Regions from separate parts of the Homo sapiens genome. Here region 2 is linked to region 1. Evidence: promoter capture Hi-C in 16 types of primary human blood cells and fetal thymus (Javierre and others, 2016). All regions are on one chromosome and are shown on one strand. The core of a region is centred on a gene start or on the middle of the fragment in contact, and the rest is flanking DNA. Distances in the headings are between cores, read along the strand shown.

What was found. The method cuts DNA at HindIII sites, captures the fragments that hold promoters and counts their contacts. A CHiCAGO score of 5 or more calls a contact.
Region 2: a fragment that was not itself captured here is called in contact with the fragment with the promoter of SPICE1 in region 1 in 1 of 17 cell types (fetal thymus); the score reaches 6.7 in fetal thymus.

The regions. Positions count from the first base shown.
Region 1 is chr3:113,511,071-113,516,815 of GRCh38, reverse strand. It overlaps SPICE1 (spindle and centriole associated protein 1), which reads left to right and starts at 1,660. Exons shown (of 18, transcript NM_144718.4): 1 at 1,660-1,919. It overlaps SPICE1-CFAP44 (SPICE1-CFAP44 readthrough (NMD candidate)), which reads left to right and starts at 1,660. Exons shown (of 52, transcript NR_183050.1): 1 at 1,660-1,919. RefSeq lists enhancers at 318-367, 428-477, 988-1,037, 1,744-1,793, 1,854-1,973. The HindIII fragment of the contact is 3,693 bases long and covers 1-2,804 here.
Region 2 is chr3:113,013,574-113,018,688 of GRCh38, reverse strand. RMP64 (ribonuclease MRP subunit p64) reads left to right here. Exons shown (of 9, transcript NM_015412.4): 2 at 1,087-1,241; 3 at 4,657-4,736. Among named protein-coding and RNA genes, the nearest start is that of NEPRO-AS1, 3.4 kb to the left of the region's middle. The HindIII fragment of the contact is 1,741 bases long and covers 2,152-3,892 here.

The DNA.
Region 1 (5,745 bases), core at 411-2,910:
TAATCATGAATTTAAAGTCAGCATGATTGGGTGTTTTTTTTCAGATTCAGCTGCATGGGTGCAAGCACTTAGTAAGTGTAAAGTAGGGATGGCTAATATGGTCATTTTGCCAAGTGATTACAGCAATTTAGAGAGGGGCAGGGAGTTGAGGATGCAAGCAAGTGGATGATTGTTGATTATTAAATATATCTACATCAAACTTCCTCAATCAGAGTGAAAACTATTAAAGGCAGTACCTTTCCTCTAGAAGGTTTTGGGCATGTATTTGCAGACCACACATGGGTGTATTGTAACAGCAGAAAGCAAGGGGCTAGAGGAAATTGTCTTACCAGAGCAAATAAACTCTGTTTTTGAATCAAGTGCTTTGTAAAGTTCTTAACGTGGTCCACGCAGCTCTGACTGTCGTGGATCCAGCCTATCAGGGCGCCTCCCCTTCACAGCAAGTTCCCACTGTTCTCTAAACTTCAGACACACTGGACCTCTTCCTGTCCCTTGCATTTTCCACATCTTTGCACATGCAGCTCCCTCTGCAGGAATGCTTTCCCCTTCCCCACTGGCCTATTCATGTCTGAGCTTTCCTGAGTAATTCAAATATTACTATAATAATAAGCTAAGTATTTGGTTAGAGTGCTTCCTTCTTAGCACTCGTCATAATTTTAATGTTTTTGTCATTGATAACTGTCTGTTAATATGCTGTAAGTTTCCCACCTTGCCTGTTTTTAGCCCCATAGAACCTAGCTCTCCCGCACATTTGTAGGTTGTAATAAACAACTTTTTTTTTTTTTTTTGAGACAAGGTCTTGCTTTGTCGTCCAGGCTGGAGTGAAGTGGTATGACTGTGGCTCACTACAGCTTTGCCCTCCTTGGCTCAAGCGATCCTCGCACCTCAGCTTCCTGAGTAGCTGGAACTACAGGCGTGTTCCCACGCCCAGCTAATTTTTTAATTTTTCGTAGAGACGGGGTTTCGCCATCTTGCCCATGCTTGTCTCAAACTCCTGAGCTTAAGCAATCCTTCTGCTTCTGTCTCCAAAAGTGCTGGGATTCCACTACTAAAGATTTGTAAACAAATGAATAGAGATGAAAGCAAATTAAGTGATATGTGAAGTCTGGTGAGGAGAGCAACATCTTTCTTTTGGAGAATTCTCGAGGCACCGGCTAATGCTATATGCCTATTCTTTTTTTTTTTTTTTTTTTTTTGAGACGGAGTCTCGCTCTTTCGCCCAGGCCGGACTGCAGTGGCGCCATGTCGGCTCACTGCAACCTCCACCTCCCAGGTTCACGCCATTCTCCTGCCTCAGCCTCCCGAGTAGCTGGGACTACAGGCGCCCGCCACCTGGCCCGGGTAATTTTTTGTATTTTTAGTAGAGACGGGGTTTCACCGTGTTAGCCAGGATGGTCTCGATCTCCTGACCTCGTGATCCGCCTGCCTCGGCCTCCCAAAGTGCTGGGATTACAGGCGTCAGCCACCGCGCCCGGCCTGCTATATACCTATTCTTTAATAATTTGCCCTGAACCTTGCAGAGGAACCTCTCTCCCTTAGACTCAGGACCCGAGATAGGCTTTGGGAGGCGCCTGCGCACTGGGCTCGCCGGATATACGCAAGGGCGTGGGGCGGAGCTCTGGTAACCCAGGCAACAGCCCGGAAGCCGCTGGCTGGGTTAACCTGTGGCGCGCTCCGCGGTTCCGGCGCCTGAAGTTTTAGCTGCGGTGGCGGCGGCAGTCGGGACCGACTGCAAGGCAGGTTGAGATGATGGATCTGAGGCTTGCAGCTCGCAGTCCCAACGAGCCTTAGGGACCAGGGCTACCAAAAGGGTGGGGAGAACGGTGGTGGCATCTGTCTGTTGCCTGGGATCCAGGCGCCCGGTTGGGGAATCCTTACTTCAGGAAGCGCAGCCGCGGCTCTGTGTTTTGAGAGTGCAAGTACGTGTCAGGGTGCGTGTCTGGGTATGTTTGTGCGTGGCGCCAGAGCACCTCGAGTATGCGCGTGCGCACCGCTTTCGGGAGCTTTTGCACAGAGCTGGTAATTGGGGGTGCTCGATTGTAGCGTTGGGGGAGTTCACCGTGTAGCAGGAGAGAGGCAAACTATCCAGGGTGCTTTGGGACCGGGAGCGTCATTTAAATCGATGGATGTCAGAGGGGCTTCTCAGAAGGCTCCTCCTGTGAGTTTTGAGGAGTCCGTGGAAGTTAACCCAGTAGAGAAGAGAGTGAGCCTAATGAGTGTTCCAAGCAGAGGGAAAAGAATGGTTGCAACTGTGTGTGAGGCGAGAGCTTGGTTTTAGGATTTGCGGGAGATGTGAGAGAACACTGGAAAGAAAAGTCAGCCGGGCCATATGGGGGAGAGGGTCTGAATGCCAAGCTGAGTTGGATTGCTTTTGACAGTGGGGAGCCATCCGAATCTAGAGGAAGTAGGTAAAGGGTTCAGATCTATTCTCTATCCATGTATTTAGGTAGGATTGATTCAACAGTGTTTGGAAAGAGTTCTTGTTTCTCTTTGATCAGTTTTCCACACCAGTCAGAGTGGATTTACTAAGTCCAGTCATAACTATCCCTTTTAAAATTCTTCAGTGGTTTCCTATGGTCTTAGGTGTTCAGATTGCTGTGGCTCACAAGACTACAATCTGCTGTCTGCCTTTCTTCCTTTAACCTCTCACCCTCTCAGATCTTTGTTAATTGAACTGAACTTCTCAAACTCTTCGTAAATGCATTTTCCCTTGCCTGGAATATTCTTTCCCCTGCTTCTAACTTTTATTCGTATTTTAGCTCTCAGTGCAAACATTTTTGGGGGTATTACAGAGAGGAGAAGCTTTTACTTACTGCATAGAGTTAGTTAGGTACTTTCATGGCACACAGAATTTACTTCCCATGCTGCCCTTTTGTTGTAAATACTTGTTTAATTGCGGTCCTCTTAGAAACTCTTAACTCTGCAAGGGCATAGACTATTCTACTTTCTTGTTATATCTGGTGCCTCGCTTTTAGATGGTGCTTCAAAATATTAGTTACATTAATAGATGGATGATGAAGTCAGTGAGTGAAGAGTGAAAGGGAGACTAATTAGAATAATGAGAGCCTGAACAAAAATATTTTTAGTAGAGATGGAGAAGAGCGGGCAAGAGAGATTTTTAGGGAAAAAGTTAATAGATTCTGTTATCTGATTCACTAAGAGATAAGGAACAGAGGTGATGCTGAGGTTTTAAATTGGAGCAACTAGGATTGTAATTCTGTAAATTCAGCTTAATTGAACATATTTATCGAGTCAACCAGTTATATATCAGCAAGTAGAGATTTGGGGTATGATGATGAGCTGTATTTTGATATACTGTATTTGTGATATTTGGGAGATGTATATAGTAGGTAGTTAGAAATGAGCATTTGGTGTTTTTGTTTTGTTTTTGTTTGTTTATTTTAAGAGACAGAGCCTCACTTTGTCACCTAGGCTGGAGTGCAGGGGCGCCATCGTAGCTCACTGCAGCCTCCAATTCCTGGGCTCAAGCAGTCCTCCCACCTCAGCCTCCTGAGTAGCTGAAACTATAGGCACTCACTGCCACTCCTGGCTAATTAAAAAAAATTTTTTTTTTAGAGACAGGGTCTTGCTATGTTGCACAGGCTGGTCTTGAGCTTCCTGCCTCAAGCGATCCTCCAGCCTCAGCCTCCCGAGTTGCTGGGATTACAGATGCGAGCCACTGTGTTTGAAGTTTTGAGGAAAGGTGTGAATCATTGATTTGGGACTCATTTTCACAGTGTGTTTGTTTGTCCATACATTCATAGCTTTGCTCAAGGGAGTTGGTGAGGTCACTGAGGGAGGATGTGAACTGCCCCTTTGTGATCAAGAAAGCAGCTCCATGAGAGCTGGCACCATATTAGACTTGTTTACTAATATCTTAGTTTATTTAGTTTACTTAGTTTACTTGTTTACTTGTATCTCTAATGCCTAGCCAGTGCCTGGTGTGTGCTGCACTCCCCCAAATAATTATTGAATGAAAGGAGAGGGTATCTAATGGAAAGACAAGAAGAATGAGAACTGAGATAGAACTGGGTGGAAATCCTTGATTAAATTGTTTGTGTGGAGGAGGACAATAGAGCCTGTGAAGAAAAGGAGAAAAGAATAGAAGAGGCCAGGTGTGGTGGCTCACGCCTGTAATCCCAGCACTTTGGGAGGCCAAGGCAGGTAGATCACGAGATCAGGAGTTCGAGACCAGCCTGACCAACATGGTGAAACCCCGTTTCTACTAAAAATACAAAAGTTAGCCGGGCATGGTGGCAAGCGCCTGTAATCCCAGCTATTCAGGAGGCTGAGGGAGGAGAATCGCTTGAACCCGGGAGGTGGAGGTTGCAGTGAGCTGAGGTCGTGCCACTGCACTCCAGCCTGGTAACAGAGCAAGACTCCGTCTCAAAAAAAAAAAAAAAAAAAAAAGAAAGCTTTTCAGTGCAAAGGTGGGGTCAGAGTTTTTGTAATTAATAAAACTTGGAGGTAGAACTAAGGATTAGTAAATACAGGTGCTAAAGTGTACCTTTTCATGAAGCTGGATGGCAAGAGAAGGGCAAAGATGGGATAGCAGCTTAACTATACCTGTGTTATCCTACTGTACACAGGTAGTAAATTACCACAGATTTAGTGGCCTAAAACAATTACTATTTATCATTTCACAATTTCTGTGGGTTGTGAGTTTGGACATGGCTTAGTTAGATTCTTTGCTTAGGGTCTTCCAAAGCTGTAATCAAGTCGTTGGCCAGTATGCATTCTCATCTGGAGTTTTAGCTTCTGAATAAGTAAAATATTCTAAATGTAACTTGAAATACTTTTCCCCCCATTTTTAAGAGTAACATAGGTCCATTATAGAAAATTTGGGAAATATAAAAGCAAACAGAGGTAACCCAATTCTGGCAAAGTTTTCCAGCATGTGCTTTACAGTCAGTCAGACCTGGTCTTGAGTGTCAGCTCTTGGCTCTGCCTGTTATTATTTGTATAACTTTGAGCTATATACTTTCTCTAAGCCTCATTTTTCATTTTTTTTGAATTTTAATATTCTTAATATTTTTAAATTTTGTTTCAAGTTCTAGGGTACACGTGCGGTATGTGCAGGTTTGTTTCATAGGTAAACGTGTGCCATAGTGGTTTGCTGCATCTATCAACCCATCACCTAGGTATTAAATCTAGCGTGCATTAGCTATTTTTCCTGATGCTCTGTCTCCCTGCATCCCCCTGCCATCTGACAGGCCCCAGTGTGTGTTGCTCCCCTCCCTGTGTCCATGTGTTCTCATTGTTCAGCACCCACTTATAAGTGAGTACATGTGGTGTTTGATTTTCTGTTCCTGCATTCGTTTGCCAAGTGTAATGGCTTCCAGTTCCATCCATGCCCCTGCAAAGGACATGATCTCATTCCTTTTTATGGCTTTATAGTATTCCATGGTTTATATGTACCACATTTCTTTATTCAGTCTATCAATGATGGGCATTTGGGTTGATTCCATCTCTTTGCTATTGTGAATAGTGCTGCAGTGAACATATATGTGTGTGTATCTTTATAATTGAATGATTTATTTTCCTTTGGGTATATATGCAGAAATGTGATTGCTGGGTCAAATGGTATTTCTGGTTCTAGGTCTTTGAGGAATCGCCACACTGTCTTCCACAATGGTTGAACTAATTTGCATTTCCACCAACAGTGTAAAATTGTTCCTATTTCTCCACAGTCTTGCCAGCATGTGTTGTTTCTTGACTTTTTAATAATCGCCATTCTGACTGGCA
Region 2 (5,115 bases), core at 1,773-4,272, 500 kb after region 1:
CGTAGCTCCGGGGCCCAAGGGAGAGAATACAGTCATGGGTTCTTTGTTTCCGGTTGGGCTGGTAAAGCCCTTTCCTCATCCCTCTTTTCACTAGAGACAAACTAAAAACCATGGCTTTAAGCTGCAAAAAGCCTAAAACAAAACAGAACAGAACAACAAAATAAGGCGGGTTGGACAAGCTTGACTTAGATCATCACATCCCCTTTCCCATATATCCATCCTACACACTTTACAGATTATCCCATCTATCCTTCCTACACACTTTACAGATTAATCTTCCCTCTTTCTCTATTCAAAAATTCTTTAACAACTCCTATTAGGCCTGGGAAATTCACCAACTCACTACCCATCCCCGAGGCAGCCCATTCTGTCTTCAGGTAGTTGTTGGGACAGTAAGAAAATTCTTGTTAGGTAGCAACCAGCCTTTACTTCCATTTAGAATGCTAGTGCTGCCTTTAGAGCCATAAATAACACATGAACTACATCTTAGGGACTTCTACAGATTTTCAGACTAGGAAGCATCTGCTGATGAGCACCCGGTGTTCATCAAATAATACGATTTCCAGTTACTGTGGTGGTTTTTCTTTTCTGAATATGTTTGTGTCTCTCATAAAGTGATATCCAAACACAGAAGCCTTGATTTTGAAGACTGTGAATTTATTCATTCTGTCTTGCTTTCGGGCATAGCGACATGGGGAGTTAGAGAGTTATTACACATGTTGTGACATGTGCCCTACCTTCAAGGTGGGGGTTAAGTGTACACATGAGGCGTAAGTGTACACCAAATGACTGACAGCAAAGTATTCATATGAAAGATTATTAAACCATGATAAAATGCAATGCAAAGATACAGCTTCTTGTTTTACAGATGTTCTCTTAATGATTTCCTGGACTTTATATCATCTGTTACCATTTTCCAACTTCTCTTATACTTAGAATCCTTACGTTCTTACAGTTGAGACTGATTACATTAGTTTTTGATTCCTTTAAAACAAATAAGGAAAGATGCTTTTTTTAGTGTGTTTTTAATATAATATACTTACTGTAGAAATACATACTAAATCTTATTAGATGTCTCTGCTTCAGACCTTTGCATTGCAGCTGTAATTAAAGAATGCCATCTCGTCATACTGTCGCTGAAGAGCCAAACCTTAGATGCAGAAACAGATGTGTTATGTGCAGTCCTTTACAGCAATCACAACAGAATGGGCCGCCACAAACCCCATTTGGCCCTCAAACAGGTGAGGAAGCCCGGTAGGTGAGACCCAACCTGTTCACTTGAAAATGTAGATCACACTGCCACTTACTATATTGCTATTTATGGAAATCTCGTGGAAATCTCAGTAAATTACTTGTGTTTTATAGGCCTATAGCCCACAGTTACATGTGCACTTTCTTTTTTTTTCCTAAAAGCATTTCAGCATTTCAAAAAGTAATTTTTGTTAGAAAAGAAGTATGTTTAGATTCTTTCCCAGTCTTGTTTCTAATAGGCAAGTAAACATTTTCTTCATTATATACAATCTATAACAACAGTGCCTTTGCCCAGCTCAAAGATAAAGTGATTTGAGCAAGACAAAATGTTGGACATTAAGAAACAGTTCCCTGGGCATAATCAGAATGCTAAAATTATTTTTAAAAAAACTTGTCTACTTATTATGGGGTACATAATCTAATTGGTGGTATGTTAGAGTAAATGGGTACATAGCAAGTTGTGGTGTAAACTGGTTTCATGTAATGTTTGGAGCTTAAGACAAAATTGGGCCCTCCAGCTCAGGGGCTATACCATAGAGTAGAGCCTCTCTTAAGCTGGCTTCCTGATATGCTCATTCATTCATTCACTTAATTCTGCAAGTATTTTCTGGAAGTTCAGAAGGCTATCCATTGTGTGACAGGGCTACCTTGCAAGTGTTTTTGAACTTTCTGTGTGCCAGGCATTCTGCTTAGTGCTGTGTATAGAGGAGTGAAAAAGGTAGACACAGTCTCTAACCTTATAGATGCATGCTTTCTGGTTAGTTTTCTACCCCTAGTACTTAAAGCAAACAGGGTGAAGATTTCATCAAAGAAAGATCTGGGACCATGGTCTTTCCCTAAATTTTCCATTCTAGGGTGGCTTTTATCTTTTTCGGAGTCTTTTTGATCCAAAAGCAAGCTTGCTAACCCTCAAAGTGAATATATTTCTCCTTCTAGCTTCTGGGTTGTGAATAATCACCCCGTCATCAAAATTTGGCATTCTCTAGTCTCTCTCTCTTACGTAGCTCTCCCATCCAGGCAGTCCATAAGACAAAACTTCCTCTGCATCTGGTCCCCTCTTCAGTTCTGGCTGCCATTTTCCTTTCTTAGACCTTGTCAACTTTTAGTTGTCTTACTATCATAACTGATGTTTCCTCCTTCAGCTTTTCCTAAGTTCTGGCATATTCTAAATATTAAAACCAGGTTAATCATCTGAAAACACAACTTTGATTTTTAGTCGTTCTCCATTGTGTCCTGAGTAAAGACCAAACTTCTTAGTTTGGCTTACGAGATCTGTGATCTGGCCTCTTCAGTCTTCTTAGTTCGGGCTTCTCTCTTGCGTTCAGATAGATTATATTCCAGCCAACCTGGACTCAACACACCTGCATGCTCACTATGTTTGTTCCTGCTTCTGAGTCTGCTTACCTGGTCCTGTATGTTTAGAATGCCCAGCCTCACCATGTCTGCCTGTTAAAGGCCTTCCTATCCTCTAAGTCCCATTTTAAGCCTTTCTGGCAGTGATAATCTGTGTTATAGTAATCTCATTTTAAGTTGTATTTTTCTGATTATTACTGAAGTTGCTTTTTTTTTTTTTTTTTTAAATTCTTGGCTATTTGGGCCTCCTCTTTGTACTTATAGCATTTAATATAGTCTGTGTCATGGTAAAGTTATTTGTGTATATATTTTATATTCCATGTGATCCCTGAAGTAGGAAACATGTTTTATGCTTATGTTACTGCTGCAGCTGCTATTACCACTTCTACTACTGCCTTACAACTGCTTAATATTTCACAGTTTTCAGAGAACTTTCATGTAAGTACTAGAATTGGCCTGTCTCTAAACATTCCCCTAAATGGAACACAGAAAGTAGTTTTGATTCCTGTTCTGTGGAGTACATGTAGGGCATGCTGGCAGATAAAGTGGTATTAGAAACTTCCCTATCTCTAGTTGCTAAAAATCTAGTAGTAAAAATAGGAAGACATGTAAAATATTTAATTAAATGCTAAAATAAAAACAGACCCTATTTAAAATTGCAATCTTCTCAGCACTCCCTCTCTGCCTTATTTGTCTTCATAGCACTTAACACCACCTGCCATTGATTGACTGCCTTTCTCTCCCAGCTATAATGTAAGCTCCACAAGGGCAATGTATTTTGTCCCTTTTGTTTACCACCATAATCCAGTTCTTAGAACAGTGTTCAGTAAGCACTCAATAGGATTTTTAATTTTTTTTAAAAAAAGTAAGAGCCATGCATGGTACAAAATGCTGTAGGAATTCTGTAGTCCTCAGGAATAACACACAAAGGGCAGCATGGGACTGCATCTAGACAGATACAAAAATTTGGATGGGCATTGATACTGGCAACAAGAGTATCTTGCCAGAGCTGCAAATATACTTCTAGAAATTGAACCAAGGTTATGGATTCTGTTTTAACAGCGGTTTTCAAGAATAATGGAGGGAACAATCCTTAAATTCTTTAGGGTCAGCTCCTATCTTTTTCAGTTTTCAAGTCTGGACACCATCCTTTGAGGGAGGTATTGACAAACCCAGATGGTAAAGCACTTGGAAAACATAGTAAGTGAACTGCGGTTCAAAAGAGAAAAAAAACCCAAGAGAGAGAAGGGAGAAAGAGAGAAGATGCAGAGGAACATAAGAACAAGCTTCATCTAATCAAAGAATATATTTGTTCAGTGATTAAAGCCAATCGTTTTCCTCATCTCTGTGGTACTTTATAGACTGTTGAAATTTAGTAGTTAATAATTTTCTATCTTGTTTTAATAGTTTCACTATTAAAAATCATGTTGTCGGCCAGGCGCGGTGGCTCATGCCTGTAATCCCAGCACTTTGGGAGGCCGAGGTGGGCGGATCACAAGGTCCAGATCGAGACCATCCTGGCAAACACGGTGAAACCCCGTCTCTACTAAAAATACAAAAAATTAGCCTGGCGTGGTGGCGGGTGCCTGTAGTCCCAGCTGCTTGGAAGGCTGAGGCAGGAGAATGGTGTGAACCCAGGAGGTGGAGCTTGCAGTGAGCCGAGATCACGCCACTGCACTGCAGCCTGGGCGACAGAGTGAGACTCCATCTGAAAAAAAAAAAAAAAATCTTGTCTTAGCAAAATTATAATCTTGAGAATAACCTATACTCGTTTTGGTCCCTTTTATGACATCAAGCTCATTGTGGCATATACTAATTTCTTAGGAGTCACCTGATTTTAAAAATGTGTTTGGCTGGATAAATTCCAAATTTGTAACTAGAAGCAATTGCTTGCGCTTTGGATTTCTCTACCCTGAAAAAAAATAAGGTATTCTGTGATATTTAGCATATTTCCATACTTTGAAAATCTAGAAGTCTTTGCTTTCCTGGTCATAATCAGTGACCCTGTCTGCATTACATACACATGAATTTGAACTGCTCTTCTTCTTTCAGGTTGAGCAATGTTTAAAGCGTTTGAAAAACATGAATTTGGAGGGCTCAATTCAAGACCTGTTTGAGTTGTTTTCTTCCAAGTAAGTAAGTGGTCCAGTTGCTTTGTGATGTGGTGGGCTGGGAACTCAATGTCTTGTGATCTCCCTTTGGATTTCTCTATGCTTGCTGTTGGAATATAACCAATTATACCTCAGCTGTATAAATTTTGTTTTAATGTGGGGTACCTGGTGTTTGTGGTAATCTTCTGACATTGATCTATGGGAGTGACTGGTGTGACATTGAAATCTGGGTCATGGTAGATTATATTAAAACATCAGTGGGCTGTTATTGTGCTTAACTACCTCAAGTTGAGCTTAAAGCAAGTCTTCACTTGAAAACTGCTATAGAAATGCTTTATATTTAAAAATGAAAGTAATGGGAGCTTGCACATAGCTGAAAATGTGAAGGGTCGCCCAGGGA